2 separate regions of the Homo sapiens genome follow, and region 1 is linked to region 2. Evidence: promoter capture Hi-C in human tissues and cell types (Jung and others, 2019). All regions are on one chromosome and are shown on one strand. Each heading gives the region's core, a stretch centred on a gene start or on the middle of the fragment in contact. The rest is flanking DNA. Distances are from core to core; before and after follow the strand shown. Region 1 has its middle 32 kb from the start of DARS2. Region 2 holds the start of RC3H1 (ring finger and CCCH-type domains 1).

What was found. The method cuts DNA at HindIII sites, captures the fragments that hold promoters and counts their contacts. A contact is called where the count stands out against the background at its distance.
Region 1: a contact is called between a fragment that was not itself captured here and the fragment with the promoter of RC3H1 in region 2, in 1 of the 25 tissues and cell types used here (aorta).

What each region holds. Positions count from the first base shown.
Region 1 is chr1:173,790,713-173,795,379 of GRCh38, forward strand. It overlaps the pseudogene RN7SKP160. Among named protein-coding and RNA genes, the nearest start is that of DARS2, 32 kb to the right of the region's middle. The HindIII fragment of the contact is 6,146 bases long and covers 1-4,667 here.
Region 2 is chr1:174,018,989-174,023,663 of GRCh38, forward strand. RC3H1 (ring finger and CCCH-type domains 1) reads right to left here and starts at 3,369. Exons shown (of 20, transcript NM_172071.4): 1 at 3,108-3,369. It overlaps RC3H1-DT (RC3H1 divergent transcript), which reads left to right and starts at 3,495. Exons shown (of 2, transcript NR_187284.1): 1 at 3,495-3,652; 2 at 3,795-4,202. RefSeq lists enhancers at 1,995-2,114, 2,179-2,718 and silencers at 2,925-3,244, 3,355-3,604. The HindIII fragment of the contact is 11,356 bases long and covers 1-4,675 here.

The DNA of each region.
Region 1 (4,667 bases), core at 1,199-3,698, 230 kb before region 2:
ACGAAATCATGCCACTGCACTCCAACCTGGGTGACAGAGTGAGACTCAGTCTCAAAAAAAAAAAAAAAGCACATAAATAGGTTTATTTTTGATGCACTAATTTTTTTAAATTTCTCAATTTTAATTTCTAATATGGTAAATCACTAGATGTAATGCATGTAAACAGAAGCTCTTTGTGTCCTCAAGTTTTTGAGACTTTAAAGGGATCTCAAGGCAAAAATGTTTGAGAACTGCTGCTCTAAATCTTCCAGTTTACAGGAAATACAAAGGAACAGAGGAATGTGTTAACTTCATAGCAATTCAATGAGCAGAGTTCAAAAGTGCGAAACTTTACAAGACAAATAACTTTGCTTCTCCAAAAATTGAATTGCAAGGAAAGAAAGTGGAGAGGGAGAAACTGACAGAGTAAAAGGAATTTAAGACTCATATCATCAGCCTAGAGCGGTGGCTCATACCTATTAATAAAATCCCCCAGCACTTTGAGAGGGCAAGGCGGGAGAATCGCTTTAACCCAGGAATTCAAGACCAATTTAGGCAAATAAGAGAGACCGTCTTTACAAAAAACTACATATATATATAAAATTTATATATATAAAATATAAAATGTATATACTATATAATTATATATTAAAATTATATATTATATATAAATTATGTTATATATAAATTTTAATTATATATATATATATATAAAAGCTGGGTGTGTTGGCACATGCCTCTGGTCCCAGATACTTGGGAGATTGAGGTGGGAGGATTACTTGGGCCAGTGCATGATCACACCACTGCACTACAGCCTCATTGACAGAGCAAGACCCTGTCTCGAAAAAAGCCAGCCAGATATGAGGGCGATCTGACTGTGACATCTGTCACTCTATTGATCGCCAGGGTTGATTCGGCTGATCTGGCTAGCTAGGCAGGAGTCCCCTTCCTCCCTCACCACTCCATGTGCTTCCCTCTTGAAGCTGTGCACACTCAGTGGAAGAGGACAGCCATCCCCAATAGAGGAAGGCCAGTCTGCAGTCAAGGGTATACAAGTAGCTGCATTCCCCTACTAGAACCTCCAAACAAGCTCTCAAGGTTCATTTGTAAGAGAACGTAGGGTTCTTTGAAGTCAAGCTTCCAAGACTCCAGACACATCCAAGTGAGTTGCTGCATGTGGCAGTCTGCCTTTCTTTAAAACAAACAAACAAAACCACCAAACTTCAGGTAATAAGGCAGGTAATGTTTTACATAATGCATCTCAGTATAAAACATGCAACAATTGAATTATTTACATAGCCCAGCAGAAGCGATTCAATAGTCTGCCCTGATGTGGACTGTAAGAATGATTAGAAAAGAAGTTAAGCCTGAGAAAGGTTTGAAAGAGAGTAATAGTTTTGCTAAGTGGACAAGAGTGGAAAGGACATTCCAGGCAGAGCAGCATGTGTAAGATATACAGAAGGAAGGCAGTGAGACAGCATGGGCTGTTCAGGGAAATCAAAGCAGTCTGCTTTCAGGAGAATAAAGTAAAAAAAGCCTGTGTCCAGAAATAAGACAGGAGAACCAGGTATCATCATAAGGGCCTCATATCCCAGTACTTTTCTCTCAGCTTTCTTTTCTGATGTTAATTCTAGTAAGTTCTGTGAGGGTGTACACGGTCAGGCTCTAAGAGGCCCCCAGTGATCCCTGCATTCTGGTATTCACACCCTTGTGTAATCCTCTCCCAAAATGCACCAGGGTTGGTCTGGTCTGTGTGCCTAATAGCGATGCTAGGAACTCTGGTGGGGAATGTTGATAATGGGTGAGGCTATGCATTTGTAGAGAAAAAGGGTATATGGGAAATCTCTGTAAACATCCACTGAATTTTGTTGTGAACCTAAAACTGCTCTAAAAAATAAACTCTATTAAAAAGTATAGGGGGGTGGTATGTCACTTCCAAAATTAGGCTTAAAAAGAATCTAGCTTTTGTCTTGAGTGTTTTTCTCTCATCTTTCACACTCTGGGAAATGCAAATACATAAAAGAATATAAGAAACCCATGAACCTCCATATACCAACCATCCAGCTTCAAAAATTAACAGATTTTGTAAATTTTGTTTTATCTGTCTCCTCCCACTCTTACTTCTCCTCTCCATCACCACTGAAGTATTTTAAAGCAGATCCCAGCCATCACCTTAAAGTCATGCACTTCATTCATAACAACGTTTTGGTCATTGACAGACCACATATATGACAGTGGTCTCATAAGATTATAATACTGTGTTTTTACAGTGCCTTTTCTATGTTTAGATATGTTTAGATACACAAATCCTTACCATTGTGTTGCCTACAGTATTCAGTACAGTAAGTAATACATTGTACAAGTTTGTAGCCTAGGAGCAACAGGCTATCCCATATAGCCTAGGTATATGGTAGGCTATACCATCTAGATTTATGTAAGTACACTCCGTGATGTTTATACAAAGATGAAATCACCTAAAGACATATTTCTCAGAACATACCCCTGTCGTTAAGTGATGCATGACTGTATTTCACCCACATTTGAGTATTTAACAGATAAGGTCTAACTATAACAACATTATCACACTTGATAAAATAAACATTCCTTAATATCATCTAATACCCAATCAATGTTAAAATTCCCCTAGTTACCACTTAATTTGTTTACTATTATACTTTGAAGTTTTCTTTTTTTCCTGTCCCTTCTTTTGCTCACTTGGTCAAATTTCTATTTCGTTCCTTTGCCCTTTAATTTTAGAAATTCTTCTATAGTTTCTATTCTATTTGGTGTGTGTATCTGCACTGCAACAGATATAGTTAAACGTATTTCTCTACGAAGATACTCACATTAAGAGGCTGTTATCCATCCTGGCTACCACGGTGAAACCCCGTCTCTACTAAAAATACAAAAAAAAAAAATTAGCCGGACATAGTGGCGGGCGCCTGTAGTCCCAGCTACTCAGGAGGCTGAGGCAGGAGAATGGCGTGAATCCAGGAGGTAGAGCTCGCAGTGAGCCAAGATCACGCCACTGCACTCCAGCCTGGGCGACAGAGGAAGACTCCGTCTCAAAAAAAAAAAAAAAAAAAAAGAGGCTGTTAGAAATACTTCATAGGTGCTCTATAGCACCCAGTCATAACATACGTGATACCTAGACAGCCCGTGTTTAGAGATACTAACAGTGGGTAGTGGCCTCGGGTGTTATCAGCTAGCTCCATTATAAAATACTCCATCAATCTTTCACCTAAGGGTTTAAGCAGATACTAATGATTGATGCTTACATCTATTATTTCACTGAGAGTTATAAATGATGCCTTCTCATTCCTTTGCATTTATCAGCTGAAATATATCTAAAAAACTTACCTTGATCAGCTATTTGATTATCTTGAAATATAATTTATACTAGAAAGTAGAAAATGTTTGCTTCTCCCCTTTACCAATTTTCAGAACTTGATTCTGCAGCAACCTCCAAAAGTAACACCAATTTCTAAAATTTTGTTTAGTATTAGTATGAGCTCATAAATTATTTTTACTTTAATATTGATATAAATAAATTTTTATATATTCAATCAATTACACTTTTTCCTTTTGATATGTGAATTGTCTCACCTTTGGCAAGTAGGGTCCCCCTTCATTTTGGCTCCTAGCCTTTTGACACAACTGTTGATAGCTATCTTGCTTTTCTGATATATGAAAGGTTATTTTTATACATTTCTTGTCCCAAACCTGAAATCAGCCCTTCCTCAAGAAGTTTTAGCTCCTTTTAGTGGGAAATACTTATAGAACATAATCTGTGTGTTAGTAATGTTCATTGTTAATGGCTTTTTACTGCTTCCGGGCCTCTCCAGTAAACAAAGCTATGTGTTTTTTAGCAAATCATGAATAACCTCAGTAGATGCCGAAAAAAAATTTTGACAAAGTGCAACACCTATTCATAATAAAACCCCTCAACAAACTAGGAATAGAAAGGATCATTCTTAACTTGATAAATGACATCTATGAAAAAACCTACAGCCAACATCATATTTAATTGTAAAAGACATGATGCTTTCCTACTAAAAACAAGACGAAAATGTATATTCTTACCAGTTCTATTCACCATTGTACTGGAGATTCTAGCCAAGGCAATTCAGCAAGAAAAAGAAACAAAAGATTAAAAATTAAGAAATAAAACTGTCTTTATTCACAGATGATATGAATTTTTTATGTAGAAAATCCTAAAGAATTCAGTGAAAAAAAACTACTAAAATAAGCTCAGCAAAGTCACAGGATACAAGAGCAATATACAAAATCACTTGTATTTCTATATGCTAGCAACAAACAATTTGAAAATGAAATTAAGAAAACAATTCCATTCTCAATAGATCTAAAATAATAAAATATTTAAAGATTAAATAAATGGAAAAACATCCTGCTCATAGATTAGAAGATTTACTATCATTATGGCAACACTCCCCAAACTGCCCTATGAATTCAACACAATCATTATCAAAATCCCAGGAAGTTTTTTTTTTTTTTGGCAACAATTGACAAGCTGATCCTAAAATTCTTATGGAAATACAAAAGACGCAGCCAAATAACCTTGGGAAAAAAACAAAGTTGAAGGTCTCACACTTCCTGATTTCAAAACTCACTACAAAGCTATAGTAATTGAGACAGTGTCGTACTGGCATAAGAAGTGACAAGTAGAT
Region 2 (4,675 bases), core at 2,119-4,618:
AAATTAAGAACTTCAAATATTAGCTGACCCAACTTTAACATCATTGAATATCTTTAATTATTTAAAAAAATTTATAAAGTATTTCAAAGGCACAATTTAGTAATTGCCTATGTAACAAATTAACCATGAAAACAATTACAGCAGTATGATAAATCTGTCCTATGTAAACAGTATGAGTTTTTATATTTTATAGCATTCAGATATGCTAAAAACAAAAATTTAAGTGTTTCTTTTGTGATTCACATGAACAAATACTTTCTTGGTCTTACAAGTAGATATCTGACAGGATACAAATAATGATAATAGGGTAAGTTCACAGGCAAAAAAAGGAATCTGTCAACACAGAAGATGCTTCAAAGTTTAACTGTGACACATGTGGTAGTGGCAAAGAATCTAATTTGTGTCACAAGATCTGAGTCTGAGTAAGCTCTTTTACCTATTAATTATGTGATCTTTTTGCTGGTTACATAGCTACTCTTAGCTTCACATTCTTCATATGAAAAAATGAGGACAACAGAACTAATACTGCAGCATAATGAGGAAGCTTAAATATTTTTATTCATTCAACAAATATGTTCTGAAAGGCGTTGTGTACAAATTACCCTTTTTTATTTCTTCAAATAAATCAAGCATATATTAACTTTTAATATTACCAAGAAAATATAAATCTAATTCTTAAGCTCTGGTTCCAAAACTTCTTAGAAGTAAATTTTTATTACCTGAGAAAATGTGAACTTAAGTAATAAGTATTGATACTGAAGAAGGGACAGTTGAGTTTGTGTCAAAACTTAAAACTGTTTTGACACAAAATAAATAAAAACAATTCCCTAAATTTTTTTCCTATTGAACAGAAATACGGACCCAGACTAAGCCCATAAATTGCTGGGTCAATAACCAATCTGAAATACAAAACCTTACCACTTAAAAATATTTATTTTCAGGAAAATGATATTAAATATGAGGTAAATCTGCCCTTGACATAACACGGTGAGATTGTTTTCATAACACAGCACATGAACCACTTAAAACTTACAACCTATAAATTACTACAATTGTTCTAATAGGTTTAGGGCCATACATAAATTTAAGTATCATTATAACACAGACTTTACTTGGAATCTGTGCTGACCTAACAAAATTAGCACAGAAAAAAAAAAAAAATCACAGATTTGAGCACCTGAAAAACGGTGTCCTTTCTGAAATATCTGCAAAAAAGTCACAACATCAGGAGCCATAGAAAGTTGTTATTTCTCCATCATTCAAAAAATCAAAACATCTCCAACATTATTTATGCTAAGCATAAAATGAAGGTCAGTATTGATATTCATTCACTATACTTCAAATCCTAAACAAGAAAATTCAACCTTTATGTTTATTCAATTGCTAATCTATTCAGTGTCAATTGTTGTGGAAGAACTAAGAACTAGACTAGTGCTGCTTATAATGTTTTTAATTAGAACAGACTTGGACCAATTCTACTTAGAAATTTACCCTTAGAAGAGGTGAAAGATATTAACTGGCATCTTTTCAGCACAGGTCAGTGCTGAAAAGAACACAACCTATAACCCTTAGGCCTTGCAGTTGAATGTTAACAAGTGAAAAGCAATCTCCTTGGATGTATCCAAGCGATTTTAATATAAATTTCTGCATACCTAGGTAGAAAGTACTTTAGAAATAAATCTACCTTTTCCCTCACTTGTAAGAAAATGTGGTAGAAGCCTTGAAAAATTAAGTTTAAGGCTGAGCGAGGTGGCTCACGCCTGTAATCCAAGCACTTTGGGAGGCGGAGGAGGGCAGATGACTTGAGGTCAGGAGTTCCAGACCAGCCTGGCCAACATGGTGAAACCCCGTCTCTACTAAAAATACAAAAATCAGCCGGGCATGGTGGCGGGCGCCTGTAATCCCAGCTACTCCGGATGGTGAGGCAGGAGAATCGCTTGAATCCGGGAGGTGGAGGCTGTAGTGAGCCGAGATTGTGCCACTGCAATCCAGCCTGGGTGACAGAGCAAGACTCCGTCGCAAAACAAAACAAAAACGAAATCAAATTTCAAACTCAGAGAAAAGACTGGTCTTGAACAATTTCAGGAAAAATTACTGAAACACGAGACAAGGCACAAGAAGCTCTATGGCCGGAGATGAACCACCTGTCTCCTTTCGAAGTGCTTCCTGAGGTCCACTTTATGCTAGTTAATGTTGCTTCTTATACTGCATGTTAGTAATTCAAAACGCCTAGCTGGAATAAAAGTCCTCTTTAAACATTACAGTTTGTCTCCGCGTTGCCAGTGTTTGTTTCCAGTTTCATAGGCTATTCTGGTATGTCAAGAGTTGTGTTATTACTGTTCCAAAAGAGCCCTTGTTTCAATCCACTCTCACCTGGGATGCGGGCATAACTGATGTTTATAGAACTGATACTTAGAGATGTTTAGAGAGGCGCATCCCTTACCACTCCATCCTTTACCGATAACCACATTTTATATGTTTTTGTTGCATTTAAGTTTTTTGTTTTTTTTTTTTAAAGACACCTGCACACACACAATTTTCCCATCGCCAGCAGGGAGAAGACTACCAGGCTAGATCTCCAGGGACTTCAGGGAAACAGACACCGTGAAATCCACTTGGCCAAAGAAGGGGAGCGCTTCAGGGGCTGGGGGAGGAAGCAGCCCTGAGGTGCTGGGAGGCCGAGGCGGCGCCTGTTTACAGACGCCTTCGCCCTCCCCCACCCCCACAGACTAGGGGTCCAAAAAGCAGTTCCCGTGCGCATTCCCCGCCTGGCCCAGGCCCTGGGAGTACCACAGGAGCCAGGTAGCCCTTTCGCCCCCTCCCTCTCGTCCGAGCCTCCCTTCGTCCTCCTCTCGGCCTACCTACCCCGACAGGCCCTACAGGCGGCATGCAGAGGCCTGAGGCCTAAAGGACGCCGGCCACTGACAAGCCCCAGAACAGCCGGCGGGGGCCCTGAGGAGCCTGGGGCCGGCCGGGCTGCCGCTGCCGCGGAGGAGCAGAGGGCGGGCGAGGACAAACCCTTCCCGACCACAGCTGCCTATTGTTCCCGACTGAGGCCCCGGCCGCGGCAGCCCCGCTCCCCAAGTCGCCGCCCGCCGCTCGCTCACCGCGCTGGTCCGAGCAGCAGCTCCTCTCAGCTCCGAGTCCCCGCGGCCGTCGCCACCGCCGCGGCAGCCGCCGCCGCCGCCGAGGCCACCGTTGACTCTGATTCTGTCCCAGGCCGCCGGGCCACGGCTGCCGCCGCCACCGCCAGCACCGCCTCCGGCCTCCCACCTGCTGCTGCTGAGGCTGCTCCTGCAGCAGGGGCCATCTTGTTGCTCGGCCTCCTCTTCCTCCTCCTCGTCCTCCGCCGCCCAGTCGCTCGTTGTCCTCGTCCCCTTCCTCTTCCTCAGGCTCCGGCCCGCCCCGGAGACTGGGGCGGAGACGAGGGCGAGGATCCTCCCTCAGGAGGCGGGGCGGGCGGAGGGGAGGGGCGGGCGCGGGAGCAAAGCTCTGAGTCACCGGCCACCAACGCCCGGAGGGAGACCGGCGACGCTCTCCGCCGCGACCGAAAGTCTCACACGCCCTGAGCAGATGAACCGGTCCCTCGGTCCGGTCTGCCCTCCCGCACCGGCGCCTTTGGGCTCAGCGGGCCAGTGGCCAGATGGCGAGAGTAAATTGGGGGAATTTCTTTCGTTTCCATCGAACCCCACACTACGTCTACTCTTTCGGCTTTCTCAGCCGTTGTCCCCCAACTCTTGTTTCTTTTTCACGTCTTGTCCCCCACCCCATTTTTCTTCTTCCATATTATCCAGGTTCTGGATCTCATCAGCTTTGTCCTCGTCACCCCTCTGGGAGTTCAGCCTCCTAAGGCTGTGAAACAGCCCAAAAGGCCCGGACACGCTACTCCAAAACGTCTCTCCTGGGCTGTGTGAACAATAAGAGCTATTTGGGGACGACAGGAAAAGATATGGCCCATAGAAGGGCTCCTGAAATCTAACCTTGCGACTCTTTAAAAGTTTCTTGTCCCTTGTGGAAAAGGTGCCGTTTTGGTTTTGGGGAATGGGAGGTCCCTTCAGACAATTCATTTTAGCCAAACCCTCGCTTTTGAGAAGGGGAAGAAATGGGATTATTGTAACACCATACAGTACTAATTTCAAAATAAATCATCTAGAATAGAGGAGAGAGAGAGTCCCCAAATAAACAACCATTTAATACCTCTACTCGGCGCTATCACCTTTTTTGCTTCAGGATTTGACCAAGAGAGCAGAGATTATGTTTTTCTGTCCTTTCTTCACTGTTTACATCACAGTACCCCAAGAGAAGCACTTCTGCCTTTAACTTGATACATTGGAATCGCTATCACAGATAGTGTTTTTGTATTATTTTTAAGAAATATCACACACCTTCCTAAACTCTTGGCAGAGAAGAATTCTTTTTAGTTGTTAGCACCCTCCTGCTACTGAGATCTCAGCTTCTGTTTAGAAGACCTATTGTTGTCTTTCCACTGATTGGAATTTGCTGCCTCTGAACTGGGTTTAATCTGTAATCGTCTTTTCAGCCTACTAAATAGTAACCCCAGTCCTACAGAGAGTGAATTTCTAGCTACCACAGGGGGATTTAGGTTAGCATGTGCCAATCTAAAGGGATCTCTTAAAGCCTTTCCCTTCTCAGACCAGGCCTCTGTACCCTGCTA